2 separate regions of the Homo sapiens genome follow, and region 2 is linked to region 1. Evidence: promoter capture Hi-C in 16 types of primary human blood cells and fetal thymus (Javierre and others, 2016). All regions are on one chromosome and are shown on one strand. Each heading gives the region's core, a stretch centred on a gene start or on the middle of the fragment in contact. The rest is flanking DNA. Distances are from core to core; before and after follow the strand shown. Region 1 holds the start of FGA (fibrinogen alpha chain). Region 2 has its middle 35 kb from the start of MAP9-AS1.

Region 1 (2,500 bases), core at 1-2,500:
TATTTGTCTTTCTTTTCCGTTTTTTTTTTTTTTTTTGAGAAGGAGTCTCACTCTGTGGCCCAGGCTGGAGTGCAATGATGCAATCTCGGCTCACTGCAACCTCCTCCACCTCCCGCGTTCAAGTGATTCTCCCTGCCTCAGCCTCCTGAGTAGCTGGGATTACAGGTGCCTGTCACCACGACCAGCTAAGCAGTATTTGTCTGTCTATATCTGCTCATTTCACTTAGGATAATGCCCTCTAGGTTCATCAATGTTACTGCAAATGACAGAATTTCCTTCTTTTTCAAGGCTGAGTAATACTCCATTGTGTATATATATATATACACATTTTCTTTATCTACTCATCCATCAGTGGAAACAGGTTGTTTTCATATCTCGGCTATTGTCAATATAGCTACAATGAACATGGGAATGCAGGTGTCTCTTCAAGATCCTGATTTCATTTCCTTTGGAAATACACTCAGAAATGAGATTGCTAGCACAGAAACAGGAAATAAATGGTATTTTTCATGGCACTTTATGATCTCCCATAATTCACTGAGTATTTCCTATGTGACAGTCACTGTTCTGAGAGATTTACAAGAATTAACTCATTTATTCTTCATAAAAGCATGGGGTAGCTTATCAGCATCCTTATTTTATAAATGAGGAAACTGAAGTATAAAGAGGTAAAGTAACTTGTCCAAGAACATAGAGCAGGGAAGTGGTGCAGCTTGGATTATGAACCCAAGATGTTTTGTTCCTGGGGCTGCTGTCATCTTAATATTTTAAATAGAGAAAAGTAATATGTTCTAAATAAACTTATAGAAAGCCTTCAGGGCCAGCTTATCCCCAAAGTTATTTTTTTTATAAGCCAGATCACCCAACCCTAATTTCTGCATAAAGTGAAATATTGTTTGCTAAATCACTACTACTGGGGGCTACAGCTAGCTTACCTAAGCACCTTCTATATTCTTTCACGTTTAGAAATATGGATATACCCTCCTATGCTCCTCTTTTCATTCTCAAAGCCACCCTGTTCCTGGAATGTGAGATCTCCTAATTGTTGACTGGAGAATCAAATGCTACCTTTGCAACAGCTTATCGGAAGCAAACAAGCTGAGGGGAATTGAGCAAGAATTTCTGGGATACCAACAGCATAGGAGGAACAAAGGACGTAGAGGGAGGGTTGACTGTCTACACAGGACAAAGCCAATGATTAACCAAACCTCTTGCAGATTTAAATAGGATGGGAACTAGGAGTGGCAGCAATCCTTTCTTTCAGCTGGAGTGCTCCTCAGGAGCCAGCCCCACCCTTAGAAAAGATGTTTTCCATGAGGATCGTCTGCCTGGTCCTAAGTGTGGTGGGCACAGCATGGGTATGGCCCTTTTCATTTTTTCTTCTTGCTTTCTCTCTGGTGTTTATTCCACAAAGAGCCTGGAGGTCAGAGTCTACCTGCTCTATGTCCTGACACACTCTTAGCTTTATGACCCCAGGCCTGGGAGGAAATTTCCTGGGTGGGCTTGACACCTCAAGAATACAGGGTAATATGACACCAAGAGGAAGATCTTAGATGGATGAGAGTGTACAAACTCACAAGGGAAACTTTAGCATCTGTCATTCAGTCTTACCACATTTTGTTTTGTTTTGTTTTAAAAAGGGCAAGAATTATTTGCCATCCTTGTACCTATAAAGCCTTGGTGCATTATAATGCTAGTTAATGGAATAAAACATTTTATGGTAAGATTTGTTTTCTTTAGTTATTAATTTCTTGCTACTTGTCCATAATAAGCAGAACTTTTAGTGTTAGTACAGTTTTGCTGAAAGGTTATTGTTGTGTTTGTCAAGACAGAAGAAAAAGCAAACGAATTATCTTTGGAAATATCTTTGCAGTATCAGAAGAGATTAGTTAGTAAGGCAATACGCTTTTCCGCAGTAATGGTATTCTTTTAAATTATGAATCCATCTCTAAAGGTTACATAGAAACTTGAAGGAGAGAGGAACATTCAGTTAAGATAGTCTAGGTTTTTCTACTGAAGCAGCAATTACAGGAGAAAGAGCTCTACAGTAGTTTTCAACTTTCTGTCTGCAGTCATTAGTAAAAATGAAAAGGTAAAATTTAACTGATTTTATAGATTCAAATAATTTTCCTTTTAGGATGGATTCTTTAAAACTCCTAATATTTATCAAATGCTTATTTAAGTGTCACACACAGTTAAGAAATTTGTACACCTTGTCTCCTTTAATTCTCATAACAACTCCATAAAATGGGTCCTAGGATTTCCATTTGAAGATAAGAAACCTGAAGCTTGCCGAAGCCCTGTGTCTGCTCTCCTTAATCTCTGTGAGAGTGCCATCTCTTCCTGGGGACTTGTAGGCATGCCACTGTCTCCTCTTCTGGCTAACATTGCTGTTGCTCTCTTTTGTGTATGTGAATGAATCTTTAAAGACTGCAGATAGTGGTGAAGGTGACTTTCTAGCTGAAGGAGGAGGCGTGCGTGGCCCAAGGGTTGTGGAAAG
Region 2 (7,283 bases), core at 2,761-5,260, 730 kb before region 1:
GGATATGATATAGGAATTTGAATGTTTAACTCTCATCCCTGAGTGACTTTTTTAGTAGTTCTGGAGTTTGACAATGATTGTACTGTGTAGCCTTTTACGGTCCATCTCCTTGTGAAATTGTGTGATTCAATCATGTCAACCAACCATTCCTGAAAGAACCCAGAGGCCACCCTCTCAAATACACAGCACTGATACTGATCGTTAAATATCTCCTGAGTTAGAGAGTTTCACACTTTCCCTCTAACTGGTGCCATAATGGAGAATCTTGTGTAGCAGGGCTACACTGAGGTGCCCTAAGGATCTCACATCTTTCTACTCCCATTCGAGCAGGGATAAGCCAATGACAAGTAAGGCTCAAAGCCTCAGTAGGCTCATAGCTGCAGCAGAACAGAGCATCCGAAATATAGCAGCCACAGCACTATCTCCATGAGTACATCTTGGATGTTCCTATGTCTATACAAGTGCCTGGGTTTTCATTTTTCAAACCCCATTCCTCTATAGAAGATGTAGTCTGAATTTTCTGAAATATTCAGAATAAATTCTAGGGTAAAAAGGTGGGAGACAGAAGTACAATGATGCATGACCAGTTTTTCAAAGGGATACACCAACTATTATTCCCCAAGAAAAGAATTAGAAACTGCCAGCTGGGCAAGGTGGCTCACGCTTATAGTTCCAGCACTTTGGGAAGCCTAGGCGGGTGGATCACTTGAGCTCAGGAGTTTGAGACCAGCCTGGCCAACTTGGTGAAACCCCATCTCCACTAAAAATACAAAAATTAGCCAGGTGTGGTGGCGGGCGCCTGTAATCCCAGTTACTCAGGAGGCTGAGGCAGGAGAATTGCTTGAACCTCGGAGGTGGAGGTTGCAGTCAGCTGAGATTGCGCCATTGCATTCCAGCCTAGGTGTCAAGAGAGAAACTCTGTCTTAAAAAAAAAAAAAAAAAAAGGAATTAGAATCAGCCTTGTGGGCATAAGTCAGCCCCAGAGAGAAGAGAGATGAACTGTGAAGTAATATGAAAGGAACAGTTACTTCTGCCTTTTAAATTATAATTCTTTAATCAGAAAAAAAACCTCTTAAGCAAACAAGGTAAAATAGCTAATATTCCACAGAGTAATTGAAATTTGCCCTGTGGTACTCTCCATTTTCTGCAATATTCTTATCTCTAAAGAGAACAAGATGGATGGAGCCTATAAAGCCACAAAGGAAAAGAATAAGCTGGTAAAATAGTTCCTCCTAATGTTGAAATAAAAATGACTAATTGATATCATTTAGCCTTTTCCCAAGTGATCTATTATGAAAAGAACATTTGAATAGAGAACTCAGTAATAATTATTGAACCCCATGAGAAACCCTACATTAGACCAGAATAATATTTCTTATGTTTCATTGCGATATCATTAAAAATGCCTATGTTTTCCATGAACAAATAAAAGTCATAATATTTAGGTTTTATTCCCCTATCCCCAAAAATAAAACTTGATTGGTAGTAGCATGTAATAATGGAAACAAAAATTTCAAAGAACACATCTTTGGAATTAAAATAACCTGGGTTTACATCTCAGTTCTCCTGCTTAATAGCTACGTGGCTTGAATAAAAATCTTTAAGCCTCAGTCTTCTTATGTTTGAAATGTAGCTTTGTAAAATTTTTTTGACAAAAAAAGGATAATAAGAATAGTATAATGGCATAGAGGTGCCCTGCTGGAGATTACATTTGCTATTAGGCAGTTGCTCTTCCGGATTTAGCCAGTGAGAGGGCTCCTAAAAAGTCTGCTTGATTACCCAAGTGGGGACATTACTTTTTAAAGTGCTGAAGTGTCTTTTCTGTCTTTTAGAGATTGCATAAATAATGCTATTATCCAGAAAATGGAATACATGAACACTGTATATTTAGGCTTATTAGGCAAATATGCCAGATTTGGAAGGGGTAGGAGGGAGCTGAAGTGCCTTGGGATGTTTTCTTTAAGGAGAACGAGAAGATAGCCATGTTATCTAAGAGACGGTTATAACAAGGTCTTGGGTTAGATGGTATAGAAACTTGGGGTGGGAGAAGACGGTCAGGGTGGTCAATAGTAGCCTATTTGCTTATGCTAATGGTCCGAAAATAATGTGCATTGAATATAATGGCTGAAAAGCCCTGGGATCAGGGGATAAATCAGGAGAACCAATCTGGCAGTGTGTATTCTAGTAAAGACCAAGTCAGTAGTAATGTTTTTGTCTTCAGGAAATATTTCCCCTTAATATCAACTAGCTTCTCCATAAATCAGGAACTGGGAGCTTAAAACCTCTATTCTAGATAGAAACTAGGACAAAGTCACATAACCACATAAAATAGAAACTCCCCCACCGCAACATCTGTATCCTGCTTGATAGGACATTCACTACATATTTTTGTCTCTCTCCTGACCAAGATGATCTTAATGATTTCTTTAGCTTGACTAAACTTTAGACAGATTTCTTCTTGACTGTTGATGTCCCATCTTCCTTTTCTTCAAGCATTTACAGTAGAAAATTTGCTGTTGTAAATTCTTTCTCTGCCCTTTTGAAATGTAAATCTTCTCCCAGCCTTTTATCAGTTTGACAATCCAGGAATGTCTTTCTTAAGTACCTGGGATTCATTCCTTTGCAGTGCAATCATCAAGAAAAATTGCATCCCTATCTTCCAGTCTCTGGGGTAAGGTAGAAGCTTAACTTCCATAAGTGCCAAATTAGCAACACAAATGATCTGACCACATAGACACCTTAAGTTCCTCCAATACTTTTCTACTTGTTCATCCCCATAAGAAAAACACTCCAGGGTTCTGTGTTACGGGAGTTGAGTTCATTTTCTCTCTCTCTTTCTCTCTCTCTCTCTTCTATTGCAATAGTCTTGAATAAAGTCTTCCTTCCCTGCTTAATATGTCTGGTGTAATGTTTCTTTGACACTCCAGAGGAATGTAAGCTCTGTGAGGTGAGTGATCAGCCTGTTTTGTCATTGTTGTGTCTCTATCACCAATGCACTCACTCGTTATTTATTGGATCCATAAATCATGTCTTCTCGAGTCAATTGGACCAAGCTTTGAATCCTGCCTTTTATTAGCTATGTGGCTTTGAACAACTTGCTAATTCTCTAATTTTCAGTTTAGCTCAGTAAAATGGGGAAAAAGAAAAGCAATCTAATATCATGAATTTGCTACAAAGATTATACAGTGTATTAATATACATAAAGCATTCGCAATAAGTGAAACCTTTTGTAATTATTGTTATTGTTTTATCTGGTGAACTTAAGAGTGTTATATGTGGGCATTTTAAAAGGCCATGCTTTCATAAAAACAAAAATGAGGAATAGAGAAAGTCCAGGAAAAATGAAAAGGACAGAGTAGCTGATAAAAAAATCCAAAAATTGAGAGGGAGAAGGTAGGTAGGCTTCAGGAAAAAAACTAAATAGTATGTGATACAACAGGCTAAGTGGAATTCTACAGTTTTATTATGCCTGTTTCTCAGGTAGAATAAGACAGTGTGCCTCCATACCAATTGTTACCATGGGTTAGCTCTGTAGCTCATTGAAAGGTGTGGCAACATTCCCAGAAGGATGGCCTTCTTAGGCTGTGCCTTCTGGGTGGTCCAGTAATGCTTTTTACAGGGTCATCTGTCTGGAACTCATCACAAGAGTGAGCAACACCCAGTCTAACCCACCCCTATATTCCTCTGAGACTTGGTTCCTGAACTATCACGGAAATAATAATATCTCCTATAATAAAGACAGAAGGGGCCAGGCACGGTGGCTCACGCCTGTAATCCCAGCACTTTGGGAGGACAAGGCAGGTGGATCAGGAGGTCAGGAGATCGAGACCACCCTGGCTAACAAGGTGAAGCCTCGTCTGTACTAAAAAATACAAAAATTAGCCAGGCGTGGTGGTGGGCACCTGTAGTCCCAGCTACTCGGGAGGCTGAGACAGGAGAATGGCGTGAACCCAGGAGGCAGAGCTTGCAGTGAGCCAAGACTGTGTCACTGCACTCCAGCCTGGGCAACAGAGCAAGACTCCGTCTCAAAAAAAAAAAGAAAGAAAGAAAGAAGGCATATTTAATGCATGTTCAAACAGTAAAATACAGTGTTGCAGCCAAGGGAAATATTTAATGGCATTAGAAAGAAGAACACTTTTATCAGGAAAGAATGCAACTAGGAGGCCAGTTTTAGTTCAGCCTTATTATGGAAATCTGTCCTTCCCACTGTGGAAGCGTGGCAGAGAGACATACAAGTTATGACCAGAGAGATTTAGGCATTTAAAAAGAAAGGAGCACATGGGTGACTTTACACAGAAGTAAATTATCCCTGAGGCCATAATAGCAGAGGGCTATTGAAAAAGAGGGAAACCCCTAAAGAACCAAATTATATAAATCTATGTAGGCAGGACAAGCAGTGAAAAGGGTTCTAGAAAGGTATGAAGATATAACATACGAGCTGTGAATGGAAATATGGAAAATTTCTGCCACTGATTCTGTGCTAGGGATATGAAATGTTATATTTTGAGACTCCATAAAATGGAATTTGTGAACAAAATGGTGAAAGCCTAATAAGATACAAACTTGACCATGGCAGAAATGTCCTGTAGACAAATTTAGCTCAGGATCTATCACTCATTTCTAGTGATTCTCTATACATGTGTGTTTGGGGAGAGAGGGGCAAGGAGTGAAGAGGGAAAGTCGGACATTAATACCAAAAAGATACTGTATGGTAGTCATGAATTTTGTATATATTTTCCTCTTCAACCTATAGTATAGTAAATTACACGTGGTTTCATTCATTTGTGTAGTTTCACTCATTTTTAGTTTTTTATTTCATTTCCTTTACCCAAGGAAATGAAGCTCCCAGAGATTTACATAAGTTAATATCCAGACCAAGTAGATGCCAGATGCCCATTTCAGCCAAGATGATGATGCCCAGAGAATTACCTTTTAGAGCCCCCCACCCACTGCTTGTACTAAGCTTATTTCTCATTTATCCTAAATTTTCAGACTCTCCTTAAACTTTATTATAGAAGAAAGTAAAAGTCATGGAATTACAGCCACAACTGTTCCCCAGGGTTAAATCTTCAGTTCTTTATCCACTTCATGCAGTGTATTACTTTTTGAGATGTAACTTAAACCAAACAATTAATCTCTTATGACACAGTGATATTCTTACACATATATACACATCTCCCTTTTGATCTGAAGGCCCACACAATCTTCCATGCCTTATGGGATCAACGCTACCTCTTCCTTATTAACCCTTTGCATTATCATTTATGTGACACTCTTGCAGTTTTTAGAGCTGCCAAGTAGTTTTCAAAAAACTCTGAAAACTATGCCATAAAATTTCAGAAATTATTTTGTTACCATTAATAACATAAAACTTTGTAACATTCTATTTATGGAGATAGAGAAACACAGTTATATAAAAATCTATTTCATAGTTTTACATTGCATTTTTTCAATTTATGCATGATGACAGTCCAATCACTAGTTAGAAGATAATATTTTCTTTTTGCTCATTTGCTTATTCAGCAACTAATTGCTGAATGCTACCTTATGCCAGGTATTTCTTCTAGTTGCTTCAGATACATCAATGGCAAAACAGACAAAAATTCCTGCTCACATGCAGCTTACATTCTAGCATCACTGAAAAACAAAACAAAACAAAAACCAGAAAGCAGCTATGAGGTTAGTCACTAGGAAAGACCCCTTCCTAAAGAACCAGTTTACTGATGTGAAGGTCCAAATGTGTACTCCCAGTTTTGTCTTGGTTCAGGTTAATATAATCTTACTCCAAGAGTTTAATAGATTAACATGATGAAATAATTGTCCTTGTTCATGCAAGTGTCTAATGACACAGAGCTGCTAACATAATACAACAGCACATCTTATTCATGCAGGTGCTCAATGGAGGCAGCTCTGTTGGCAGTGACTTTATTCCACGAGGTGCTTCAGCAACCTAGGTCCTTCCACCCTGTCTTTCCACTGTTTCTTAGCATCTCAGAGTCTTCTCCATTCAGTAGATGGAAAAAATGTGTGGAGAAAGACAACCTTCTCCTTTACAGGATTAGCCTGTGTATTAGTTTGTTCTCACACTGCTAATAAAGACATACCCAAGACTAGGTAATTTATAAAGGAAAGAGGTTTAATGGACTCACAGTTCCACATGGCTGGGGAAGCCTCATAATCATGGTGGAAGATTAAGAAAGAGAAAAGGGATGTATTTCATGGTAGCAGTAAAGAGAGCATGTGCAGGGGAACTGCCCTTTATAAAACCATCAGATCTGTGAGACTTATTCACTATCACAAAAATGGCATGGGATTCAATTATCTCCCACCAGGTCCCTCCCATGACATGTGGGGATTATTACAATTCAAGGTAAGATTTGGGTGGGAACACAGAACCAAACCATATAATTCTGCCCCGGCCCCTCCCAAATCTCACATCCTTTTAAAAACCAATCATGCCTTCCAACAGTCCCCCAAAGTTTTAACTCATTCAGCATCAACCCAAAAGTCCACAGTCCAAAGTCTCATCTGAGACAAGGCAAGTCCCTTCTGCCTATGAGCCTGTAAAATCAAATGCAAGTTAGTTACTTCCTAGATACCATGGGAGTACAAGCACTGGGTAGATACAGCCATTCAAAATGGGAGAAATTGGCCAAAACAAAGGGGCCAACAGGTCCTATGCAAGTCTAAGATCCAACAAGGCAGTCAAATCTTAAAGCTCCAAAATGATCTCAGTTGACTCCATGTCTCATATCTAGGTCACACTGATGCAAGAGGTGGGCTCCCATGTCCTTGGGCAGCTCCACTCCTGTGGCTTTGCAGGGTACTGTCCCGCTCCTGGCTGCTTTCATGGACTGGCATTGAGTGTCTGCAAATTTTCCAGGTGCACAGTGCAAGATATTGGTGGATCTACCATTCTAGGGTCTGGAAAATGGTGGTCCTCTTCTCACAGCTCCACTAGGCAGTGCCCCTGTAGGGATTCTGTGGGTCCTCCAACTCCACATTTCCCTCTGCACTGCCCTAGCAGAGGTTCTCCATGAGGGCCCTGCCCTTGCAGCAAACTTCTGCCTGGACATCCAGGCATTTCCACACATCCTCTGAAATCTAGGAGGAAGTTCTCAAACCTCAATTCTTGACTTCTGTGCACCTGCAGGATCAACACCACATGAAAGCTGCCAAGGCTTGTGGCTTGCACCCTCTGGAGCCACAGCCTGAGCTGTACCTTGGCTCCTTTTAGCCACAGCTGGAACAGCTGGGACACATGCCACCAAGTCCCTAGGTAG

What was found. The method cuts DNA at HindIII sites, captures the fragments that hold promoters and counts their contacts. A CHiCAGO score of 5 or more calls a contact.
Region 2: a contact is called between a fragment that was not itself captured here and the fragment with the promoter of FGA in region 1, in 3 of 17 cell types (total CD8 T cells, naive CD8 T cells and activated CD4 T cells). The highest score is 6.9, in total CD8 T cells.

The regions. Positions count from the first base shown.
Region 1 is chr4:154,589,492-154,591,991 of GRCh38, reverse strand. It overlaps FGA (fibrinogen alpha chain), which reads left to right and starts at 1,250. Exons shown (of 5, transcript NM_021871.4): 1 at 1,250-1,358; 2 at 2,430-2,500. The coding sequence starts at 1,305. The HindIII fragment of the contact is 3,315 bases long and covers 1-2,290 here.
Region 2 is chr4:155,315,090-155,322,372 of GRCh38, reverse strand. No RefSeq gene overlaps it. Among named protein-coding and RNA genes, the nearest start is that of MAP9-AS1, 35 kb to the left of the region's middle. The HindIII fragment of the contact is 1,910 bases long and covers 3,056-4,965 here.